Regions from separate parts of the Homo sapiens genome. Here regions 1, 2 and 3 are each linked to region 4. The links are contacts of gene promoters, found by promoter capture Hi-C in blood cells and fetal thymus (Javierre and others, 2016). All regions are on one chromosome and are shown on one strand. Each heading gives the region's core, a stretch centred on a gene start or on the middle of the fragment in contact. The rest is flanking DNA. Distances are from core to core; before and after follow the strand shown. Region 1 overlaps CFAP418 (cilia and flagella associated protein 418). Region 2 overlaps PDP1 (pyruvate dehydrogenase phosphatase catalytic subunit 1). Region 3 overlaps CFAP418-AS1 (CFAP418 antisense RNA 1). Region 4 holds the start of RAD54B (RAD54 homolog B).

The links. The method cuts DNA at HindIII sites, captures the fragments that hold promoters and counts their contacts. A CHiCAGO score of 5 or more calls a contact.
Region 1: a contact is called between a fragment that was not itself captured here and the fragment with the promoter of RAD54B in region 4, in 1 of 17 cell types (monocytes). The highest score is 7.1, in monocytes.
Region 2: a contact is called between a fragment that was not itself captured here and the fragment with the promoter of RAD54B in region 4, in 3 of 17 cell types (activated CD4 T cells, fetal thymus and total CD4 T cells). The highest score is 5.9, in activated CD4 T cells.
Region 3: a fragment that was not itself captured here is called in contact with the fragment with the promoter of RAD54B in region 4 in 1 of 17 cell types (monocytes); the score reaches 5.3 in monocytes.

The regions. Positions count from the first base shown.
Region 1 is chr8:95,260,762-95,263,461 of GRCh38, forward strand. All of the region lies in intron 2 of CFAP418 (cilia and flagella associated protein 418), which reads right to left. Among named protein-coding and RNA genes, the nearest start is that of CFAP418-AS1, 6.7 kb to the right of the region's middle. The HindIII fragment of the contact is 7,469 bases long and covers 1-2,700 here.
Region 2 is chr8:93,918,589-93,921,288 of GRCh38, forward strand. The region is part of intron 1 of PDP1 (pyruvate dehydrogenase phosphatase catalytic subunit 1); the gene reads left to right. Among named protein-coding and RNA genes, the nearest start is that of PDP1, 3.0 kb to the left of the region's middle. The HindIII fragment of the contact is 2,309 bases long and covers 147-2,455 here.
Region 3 is chr8:95,277,423-95,280,122 of GRCh38, forward strand. The region is part of intron 1 of CFAP418-AS1 (CFAP418 antisense RNA 1); the gene reads left to right. Among named protein-coding and RNA genes, the nearest start is that of TRS-AGA2-5, 9.0 kb to the left of the region's middle. The HindIII fragment of the contact is 834 bases long and covers 973-1,806 here.
Region 4 is chr8:94,473,710-94,476,409 of GRCh38, forward strand. It overlaps RAD54B (RAD54 homolog B), which reads right to left and starts at 1,406. Exons shown (of 15, transcript NM_012415.3): 1 at 1,292-1,406. RefSeq lists an enhancer at 1,139-1,368. The HindIII fragment of the contact is 4,488 bases long and covers 698-2,700 here.

The DNA.
Region 1 (2,700 bases), core at 153-2,652, 790 kb after region 4:
AAACTGATATATTGCCATTATTAGCATGCTAAGATTTAGAGTCACTTTATAACTCTTCAGTTAATATTACAGTTCAATGATTTAATATGAAGGACCTGCTATTTAAAACTTCATTCTAGAAAAATTCAATTGAGGAGGAAAAAAACCTCAGACTCATTTTTAAAGGCTGTGAATGTGCGTCATATGAATTAAAATTAACCAAGCTCCTGTGTAACTTCAGGAATATTAATTTTGATCAAATGGAATGGCATCAACCAATAAATGTGCAAGGAAAATGTAGAACTACCTAGTCACAACCATACAGTAGTTCCTATATGGTTACATAGTATCATCATCATTAGCAAGCATTTATTAAGTGTTAACTGGTATATGGTACCAAACAACATAAACCAACCACACACTAGGACCACCGCCAAGGAGAGGAAGTGAGATGGAGAAAAGGCAATTTAAACTATGCAGAGACATGCCTTCATTTTACATAGTGGGTGAGGAAATTTAATAGAGGCGAAAATATTGTTTTACTATGTCTCTCAACTCTTATTTGATGTTAAGCAGAAATGGAAAAAATTTTGGTACATGTTTGAAAAATAATAATATGCACGAATCTTTCTGTTTGGGGAGCATGTTTCATGTGCCATCCAGACTCAGGCTTATGACTCTAAGCTGGCACACTCTGAGGTTTGTTGTTGGTTCCTGGGCTTTCTTGTGTGGGTCTGGGAACAGTTCAGAAATGCGACAGAATGGGAGAGCAGGAGGTGCGGTAAGGGAGTAGTATTGTCAGGGCATAATATAGCCTCTAATGACAACGTTGGCATAGACTATCTGTTTATCTATGTTTCTTTTGTTAATACATGTTTTTTTTTCCCAATAAATGTTTTACTTAGACCTGCTGTCTCCTTTGAAGGTTGGAAAACTGGACATAATACATAACTAAAAAAGGAAAAGATCATGATTAAAAATTTACTTCTTCATGATTATAAGAGCTACTTTTATTTCAAATTAGTATATCTTAAAGCCAAACCAGAGAAGTACTTATCTTCTTCTGAAACACCTTAACTGAAAAGATAGCGCCTCATATACAGATATGCACCCTATTGGTACTTAATAAACAATGAATTGCTCAGATGATTAATGAAGAGCAACAAAATGATGTAATTTTTTTCTACCATTAATTAGTACTACTAATTGGCATTACTATTCAGTGCTTATGCACTTACTCAGTATTTAGGAAGTATTCTATTTGCAGGGTACAGGTGACCCTTGAACAACATGCGTTTCAACTGCACAAGTCCACTTATATGTGGAATTTTTCCAACCAAACAAGGATCAAAAATACAGTATTTGTGGCATGCGAAACCCCACGTACAGAGGGCCAACTTTTCATAAGGTGGGTTCTGTAAGGCTGACTGTGGAACTTGAGTATGTATGGATTTTGGTATATGTGGGGGTCCTGGAACCAATCCCTTGAGTATACCAAGGAATGACTGTATTTAATATTGCTATTGTGTTTACATATTATTCAACTTGGCATGTGCTTATTAATTTACTTCAGGTGAATTGAAAAAGTTTAATTTTCTAAAATCTATACTAGTCACTTGATTTTTAGTCTGGGTGACAAAAATGTAAGTGGTCCCTATCCATATTCTTACCACAACCATTACCTAGGTATTTTCAGTCCACTGTTTTGCTTTTATCTTCCCTATCCTTTAAAAAACAAAACCCTGGTACTATAGTTATTTCTTAAATTTTTTTGTGATCTTTGTAAATTAGACTTCTATTTTTGTATCTTTCTTTTAAATCTAACAGATAATGCTTGACACACACCATACTGATAAAAATTAAAATACATAAATTCTCATATACTGCCCAGTATGAAAAATGTTAAGTGATAAAGTCACTTTGGAAAACAATTTGGCAATGGGTAGAAAAGTTGAAGATGAGCACACCTTATGACCTAGGAATTCCTCTTCTAGCTTTATACACCCTAGAGAAACTTCCGTATATGGGTAAAAGAAGCCATGTAAAGATATCTAATGAAGGCGTAATCACTGGTTTTCCCTGTGTACATGTCAAAATTTGTATGCCTTTTCTCCGATTAAAAAAAAGGTATCTGATGAAGCACTATTTGTAATAGCAAACAACTGAGCACAATCTAAATGTCCATCATCAGGGAAGTGGATAAACTGTGGCAGAGTTATACAATGGACTACTGTACACAGTTAGAATTGTTTATGGTTATGTACATATGTAATGAAAGTATAAATGTATGGATGGAAAGGATAAATGGTTATCTTTGGGAAGGAAGGCAATAGAATAGGATTTAGAGAGGTCTTAAACTATATCTTTAATTTGTACTTCTTTTTAAAAAAAAAGGTCCAGTAAAGCAAATGTGGCAAAACATTAATATATGTTTAATATGGGTGGCTGTCATGGTATGTTCAGTATATAGGTTGCTGTTATATTACTTTCTGAACTTTTTATGCAGCTAAAATAGACATACAAACATTTAAAAAACTGAAATATTAACAATTTAGTCATTGCTTCATGGGATAAGAGCAATGGCATTGCATGTGAGGTGCTAAGCACATTCCTACAATGAAAGCTGTTTGTTTTTGGCCTTTTAGAAAAGTGTCCTTAGATACTACAAATAAATACAAGTGACCAGCTTGATGTGTGAGTTGACTTCTATGCTAACAGCTT
Region 2 (2,700 bases), core at 51-2,550, 560 kb before region 4:
TGAGTCTAGATCATGGAATAGGAAATTTTCCGTGAAAATTGTGATCAAGAATAACTTGCAAATTTGACACTGCTCTGTTTTACCAACAGTTGTACCTGGATGCTGTTCTTATTGCCTGATCAAGAGCCTTCTACACTAATTTAACAAGCTTGTCAGCAAAAGTTATGATGTAGAGTGTTTTCTTGTTGTTGAATCAGTGGATAATCTGAAGGATATTAAGAGTTTTTCATTGCTTACTTATTTATGAAAGCATTTGAAAGTACTTTGACTCCCAAGGGTATCTGATCTGATGGAGAGAATGTATCACTTGTACCGATGCGGATAGAACGCTCATTAATTACAGCACAGTTTTCATAAATTCCAACTTCCCTAGGAATTTTGTCTTTTGAAGGCATGTTGGAAGTTGGGGCATTAGGATATAATCTCAGTCCATGTACTAAGCCTCTGCATAACTGAAAGATAGAGTCAATAAAATTCACTCTCTCATTTTTTGTTTTTAATCTCAAGAATTTTTGCCTTGAAGGAAAAATGTAGTGGAGAATTTGATGTTTGAACGTAAGTATTGTTAAAAGCACCTGCTGTGTCAATCATTGCTTTTTGTCACTAGATTTCATTCATTTTGCAGTCAATTACAAAAGTAGAAAAGATGTCATACCAAGCCGGGTGCAGTGGCTCATGCCTGTAATCCCAGCACTTTGGGAGGCTGAGGCGGGTGGATGGCCTGAGGTCAGGAGTTCGAGACCAACCTGACCAACATGGTGAAACCCCATCTCTACTGAAAATACAGAATTAGCCGGGCAGGAGAATCGCTTGAACCAGGGAGGCGGAGGTTGCGATGAGCTGAGATCACGCCATTGCACTTCAGCCTGGGCAACAAGAGCAAAATTCCTCCCCCCGCTGCCCTCCCTCCCCCCCCCCGGCAAAAAAATGTCGAAGCAAAGGAATTTAAGGAAAGTGCAGGTTTCCAGGACTTGTTATTCCTTAATTAAACAATCAAACCCTGTTATGCATCTATCAACCCTCCCTCCCCCCCACACAAATAGTATTTTGAGTCAGTTTACGTTCCATACAGGCACATTTTCATTGTTTTTTTCTGTAAGATTCTTAAGTTTTAAAGAAAGAGCAAATGCAGTCATAAAATTATGAAGAAAAATTCATTAAGATTACATTAGTTTACATTTTTAATGATAGAAAACCTTTATTCAAAGCACAAAATGAGTTGATATGCTTTCTGCACGCAAACCTAAAAAGAGATATGGTTTAAGTATGGAAGCCACTGTCATGTGGCCCAACATTTGAGCACATCTTCTGGCTCAGTCATGTACACTTAACCTCTGGATGACTTTCAGGTATTCAGTTTGAATTTCTTTTATTTAAATGGTTACTCCTGATGGATTCCCGTTTTTCTGGAATTTCTGTTTTTCATTAGTGCATTTCAGAATGCTTTTTTAGTTACGGATTCTTATTTCCAAAATTTTAGCCATTACTTTCTATTGCCTGATCTTGTCTTCATTTTCGTAAACAAATCCCTTCTTAGATAGTGCAGTTAAAATGATGGTACTTTCTACTACTTGCAGAAGAGAATCTGTGTGGCTGGCTTATGCAGTGCTTATTACAGAAACAAACAAGAATCAGTGATTATTCAGTGTTTAGTTTTCTTTGCTTCCCTCTACCCCAATTTATTACTTTTTCTCAAATTATTCTTCAAAAAAGGTACATGAAAATAATATATGGCTGACACATGCTATGATATTTGTTTAGCCGTGGGAAGGAATAGTTGCTATTAACTCAGATGGTTTTATTTTCTGTGTTCCTTTTTGTTTATTGCATTTGTTTATTTAAAGTATTTCCAAAGTGTTTCTTTATAGTACAAATGACTATTTTGAAGCAGTATCTCAAGAATTCAGGGAAAATATATGTTATTGAGGAAGAAGAGGGATTTTTTTTCTTGCCCAAATTATCTAGATTAATGATATATTCATTAAATTTCCCAAATAAATGCCCAGAAATTATTTTCAGCGCACATAGTGAGTGATAGGATTTTTTTTAAGTTTGTAATTATATTGCTGTACCTTTTCAATCCAAACCTTAGACTATTATTTGACTATACTGCTTCCCTGGAGCAAGTAAATACCTTTTTTTTTTTTTTTTAATGTGAGAGAAAACATTTTTGGTCTTTTAAAATTTATTTTTAATTTACAATTGACACATAATATTATATATTTATGGGGTACAATGTGATGTTTCAGTGCATGTATATATTGGTAGACATTGTGTAATGATCAAATCAGAGTGATTACCATATCCAAGAAAACATTTTTCTAGGGGTTAATTCTACTTTGGATCCATAGTAGATGAAAATACTTCTATGGGTTTTCCTTATAGCTGCTAAGCAGGGAACATTGTTAGTAGGTAAATTAAGTTCTAGGACTGAAACCATTTATGTTACTAACAAAGCTTTAGAGCTACTGCAATACTTAAACTTTTTTTTTTTTTTTAATCATGAAGGGCACGGTAGAATTCAACAGTGAATAAATGAAACCTGAATTTTATTTAAAAACCTCACTTCCATAAGCATAAAGGCATGAATCCTAGAAGAGCCTTAGATAGCATCTGCTCTGTTGATGTTCCTTTACAGGTTAGAAGAGTGAGACTCAAAGATGTGAGCTGACTTTTCCAAGATTATTTGGGAGTTGGTGG
Region 3 (2,700 bases), core at 140-2,639, 800 kb after region 4:
CATTTTTCAGCCTAGTACAAGGGCCCTGACAAACTCCTGGCTTGTGCTGACCCCTGTTTTTGGGGGATCAGCCCCTTATCTCTTTTGGTCCTGGCCAAGGGTATGTTTTAACATGAATGAGTCTGTCTGGAATCAAATTGTTAACCACTTGACTATGACTATCTCCACAGTCATATCTTTCTAGGCCTCCATTTCTAGGCCCTTGGGTATAAGTGCCAGCCTGGATCAGATTAAGCTTGCCTTTAAATACTGTGATGTAGTCTGATGGACAAATAAGCCCAAGCTCAGGTCAGTTCTTTTAGCTTGAGCCATACTGGAATGGCTTCCATCTCCTTGTCATCCTGGTATCGAGGTCTCTGCATGCCTCTTGGCAATGATGTGTTGGCTATAGTATCATCATGTGTATAACATATTTTTTTGCATACCTACCTTATTCTGAGCTCTTTATAGAACTTATTTTACTTAATCACTGTAGATCAGGAAACAGGGACAGAGAAAGGCATAGTGGCTCATGCCTGTAATCCCAGCACTTTGGGAGGCTGAGGCTGCCAGATCACTTGAGCTCAGGAGTTGGAAACCAGTCCGAGCAACACGGTGAAACTCTGTCTCTACTAAAAAAATACAAAAATTGCTGGGTGTGGTGGCGTGTACCTGTGGTCCCAGCTACTAGGAAGGCCGAGGTGGGAGGATCACTTGAATCCAGGAGATTGAGGTTGCAGTGCGCCAAGATTGCGCCACTACACTCCAGCCTGGGTGACAGAGCAAGACCCTATCTCAAAAAAAAAAAAAAAAAAAAGGAAGTAAGGACAGAGAGGTAAAGTTATTAGTCCAAGGTCATATAACCTGGGTCTAACTGTAAAATTCATGTTCATTTTACCATGCTGTACTATATTTTACATGCTTTATTATCTATCTTATTGTTGTCTCTCCTTCTCATTAAAACAAAACAAAACTGAGACTAGGAGAGGAATAAGCTTTATTTGATTTTCTAATTACTTGTGAGGACTTGGCAGACAAATTTTCTCAACCAGACAACTTAATTCTTAAATTTTTGTTTGGGGGATCTTTCCAGTTCAAGGTCTGTTATTGCATATAAGTTTGTAATCCTCTTGCCAGTTTCATTATTCTACATTTATTGCCATGTTTTGTGTAACATGTGTCTGTATACTGTTAACATTTTCCAGTAACCATCCTACATACACAGAAAAGAGACATGAGTGTAAAGGAAAAGGCCAGCAAGTTCAGTCAGCCAGGAAAAGTTTATAAGTCTGTATTTCAAGGAAGGAGTCATGTGCTGAATTTGCACACTGGCCTGTGACTGAAATCCAGATCAATATCCATGCTCTAAGTACAGTATGACTAAAACTCTTAGAACCGAAAGCTATTTAAGTCCCTTGGTCTTTCTAGCGTAAGTTAGGAAATGTTTCCTCCTCTTCAATATTTTGGAAAGGTTTGAGCAGAATTGGTATTAGTTTGCCTTTAAATGTTTGGTAGAATTCACAAGTGAAGCCCTCAAGTGCAGGGCTTTTCTTTGTCAGGAGATTTTGGATTACTGATTCAATCTCCTTACTACTTATAGGTCTGTTCGGATTTTCTATTTCTTCATGATCTTGTCTTGGTAGGTTTTGTGTTTCTAGGAATTTTTCCATTTCTTCTAGGCTATTCAATTTGTTGGCATATAATTGTTCATAGTGCTCTCTTATAATCCTTTTTATTTCTGTAGAATCGGTAGTAATGTCCCCACTTTTATTTCTGATTTTAGTAATTTGAATCTTCTGTCTTTTCTTTCTTGTTCTGTCTAGCTAAAGCTTTGTCAATCTTGTCTGTCTTTTCAAAAAGCTAACTTCACATTTTATTGATTTTCTCTTGATTTTCTATTCTCTATTTCACTTATCTTTGCTCCAATCTTTATTATTTCCTTCCTTTTGCTAGTTTTGGGTTTAGTTTTCTCTTCTTTTTCTAGTTCATTAAGTTGAAACTTAGGTTGTAGATTTGAGATCTTTCTTGTTTTTTACTGCAGGTGTTTACAGCCATATATGTCTCCCCTAGCACTTCTTTCACTGTGTTATATGTTTTGGTATGTTGTTTTCATTTTCATTAGTCTCTAAGTATTTTCTAATTTCCCTTGTGATTTGTTTTTTGATCCATTGGTTGGTTGTTTAAGAGTGTGTTGTTTGATTTCCAAAAATTTGTGAAATTTTCAGTTACTTCGGTATTGATTTCTAACTTTATTCTATTATGGTTGAAGGAGATACTTTGAATAATATCTATCTTTTAAAATCTATTGAGACTTAATTTGTAGCCTAACATATGGCCAATCCTAGAAAATGTCCTATATGTACTTGAGAAGAATGTGGATGCTGTCAATGGGTAGAGTGTTCTGTATATGTCTATGAAATCTATTATTAGTTGGTTTATTGTGTTTTTTAAGTCTTATATTTCCTTATTTATATTTTGTATAGTTGTTTGATCCACAATTGAAAGTGGGGCATTGAAGTGCCCAACTATTCTTGTAGAGCTATCTATTTCTCCCTTCAGTTCTGTTGGTTTTTGCCTCATATATTTTGATGGTCTTTTATTAGGTGTGTAAATGTTTATATTGTTATCTGTTCTTACAGTTTTTAACTTTTTATTAACATATAATATCATTCTTTGTCTCTTGTAAAGTTTTTTGATTTAAGGTCTGTTTCACATATTAGT
Region 4 (2,700 bases), core at 156-2,655:
CGTCGAGGATGCAAGAATGTAAGTACACCAACTCTACCAAGAACCAGCAACGGTCTCTCCCTGCTGTTGCTGCTTGTCGACTTCCAACTACATTAGGTAGTAATTATTTCACTTCATGCCTTAAATTGCTCCTTTGAGACTCCGGCTATATAGATGGTTCCTAATTTAGGACGGTGTCACTTAGAATTCTTCGACTTTTAAGAAAGCCATGAGCATTCAGTAGAAACTGTACAAGTAACCACACAACCGTCTGTGTTCATGATTTTGCCCAACTGTAGATTAAGGTAAGTGTTCTGAGCATGTTTAAGGTAGGCTAGCGCAGCCATAAAAAGGAATGAAATCATGTCCTTTGCAGCAACATGGGTGCAGCTGGAGGCTATTATCCAAAGCGAATTAAAGCAGAAACAGAAAATCAAATATTGCATGTTCTCACTTATAAATGGGAGCTAAACATTGGGCATTCATGAACATAAAGATGGCAACAATAGACAGTGGAGACAACTAGAAGGGAGAGGAAAGGAGGAGCAAGGGTTCAAAAACTATTGGGTAACATGCTCACTACCTGGGTGACAGGATCAATCGTATCCAAACCTCAGCACCACGTAATATACCGATGCAACAAACCTGCACATGTACCCCCAAATCTAAAATAAACAGCTGAAAATAATTTTTTTGATAACAAAAGTAGGCTAGGCCAAGCTTTAATACTCAGTAGGTTAGCTGTGTTTTAAATCCATTTTCCATTTGGGATATTTTCAACCCCGTAGTAAGTCGAGAAGCATCTGTTCCTACCTAGAAAATCTTCCATAAGGTAATCGATTAAAAGGTTTTAAGGAAATACAAGAAAAACCTGACCAGTGAAGAGGTAAAAGCCCCTAAAGAAGGCGTACCGACACTCTCCAGGACGCTCGCAGAGCCTTCACCCCCTGGCCCTGGGGAAGGAAATTCCCAGTGCAGGAGTGAGGGAGAGACCCAAAAGCCAAGAGGAGCCTGCGCAAAGCGACCGCAGTGGCGGCCCCAGGGGCCACTGCCCAGAACCATCCCTCCCACACAAACGCACAACCCTAAACCCCCACCGCCCGCCCTTCGCTCCAAGGCCCCCGGGGCCAGCAACCAGGGCGTCCCTGGCACTTCAGACCAAAGCTGCAGGCCCGCAGAAGGCCACTTCGGTCGCTCCTGCCGCCTTCCCTCCCTCCTCCCTCGTTGGCCTGCTCCGGCGCCACTCCCTGCTTTGTCCCGCACGAGCCTACAGGCTGTCGCAGCCTCCCGAGCTTCCCCCTGCAGGACGCACCGGCGAAAATCTGACAGAAACCACTGGCCCTGCAAAGAAGTCCTTCTGGTAACCAGCTATCCCCTCGCCGCCGGAGAAGCTCAAGGATCCCGCCTCGGCGAAGCCAATCGCGGACGAGCCCGCCGCGCGTGCGCACTACCTAGCCGCTGCACTGCCCTGTCCTGCCCTACTCTGATTGGACGACCCTACTGCATCACTGCGCATGTATCTTTGCGTTTGGCTTTAAATGCTTCCAAGTTTGATTCAAGTTTACGGTTCAATTAAAAAAATACTGGTTTAGTGCCTACTTTCAGACACAGTGTAGATGCCGAGGCTACAGACCTCACCATCTGCGTGGATAAGTAATAAATACGGTATGATTCGGTGTGTGCGATAATAGAAATGCGTGCATCGCAGAAGTATACGATATCCTATTGGTTATTCATTCATCCGAAAAAACATTGACTTAGCGGTGCCTGCAGGATAATTTTCAAACTCTTTGTTAGGTTCTGGGAATATAGAAACGAATACGTGATTATTAGGCTCTCAGAAAAGGGGAGCCGCCTCCGGACTTGGAAAAGCATTAAAGCATGTTAAGTAGGAAAGTTACATCATTCAATGAGTATTTACTGAGCACCTTCTAAGTGCTAGGCGGTAACACAGTCAACTATCCCTGAAAAATGGTATTAGAAAGGCTAATCTGAAAGGAGAGAGAATGGCTAAAGGTTGTTTATTGAGTTTTATCCAGCAGTTTGACAAAAAGTAAAAGCTAAAAAATATCAAGGGTGAAATGAAGATGTGAAACAATGGGAACTCTTGGGCTGCTGGTAGGAGTGTAAATAGGTACAGCCATTTAAAAGAGTAATTTGAGGCTGAGAGCGGTGGCTTGTGCCTGTAATCCCAGTACTTTGGGAGGCCGAGGCGGGCGGATCACTTGAGGTCAGGAGTTCGAGACCAGCCTGGCCAACATGGTGAAACCCGGTCTGTACTAAAAATACAAAAATTAGCTGGTTTTGGTGGAGCGCGCCTGTAATCCCAGCTACTCAGCAGACTAAGGCGGGAGAATCGCTTGAACCTGGGAGGTGAAGGCTGCAATGAACCGAGATGGTGCCGCAGCACTCCAGCCTGGGCAGCAGAGAGACCCTGTTTCAAAAAAAAAGAGTAATGTGCTTAAGGAGCTTTTATCCTGGGGACTTTTTCCAGTCATAAAGAGCACCTCATAGGTTGAGTTGTGCTTTTGGCAGCTCCTGGAGCCAGCGTTACAAGAATTTGAAATGGGGACCTGCCAAGGTTGGGCACCTTAGTAAACCGCACCCCCCTCTTCTTTGGACTGGGACACATAAAGAGTAAGGGTAACCAGAAAACAAGCTAGCTTCATAGTGTCTGCAGCCTACCTTAATATCATCTGGGGAGTTCAGAAAATCTAAAAC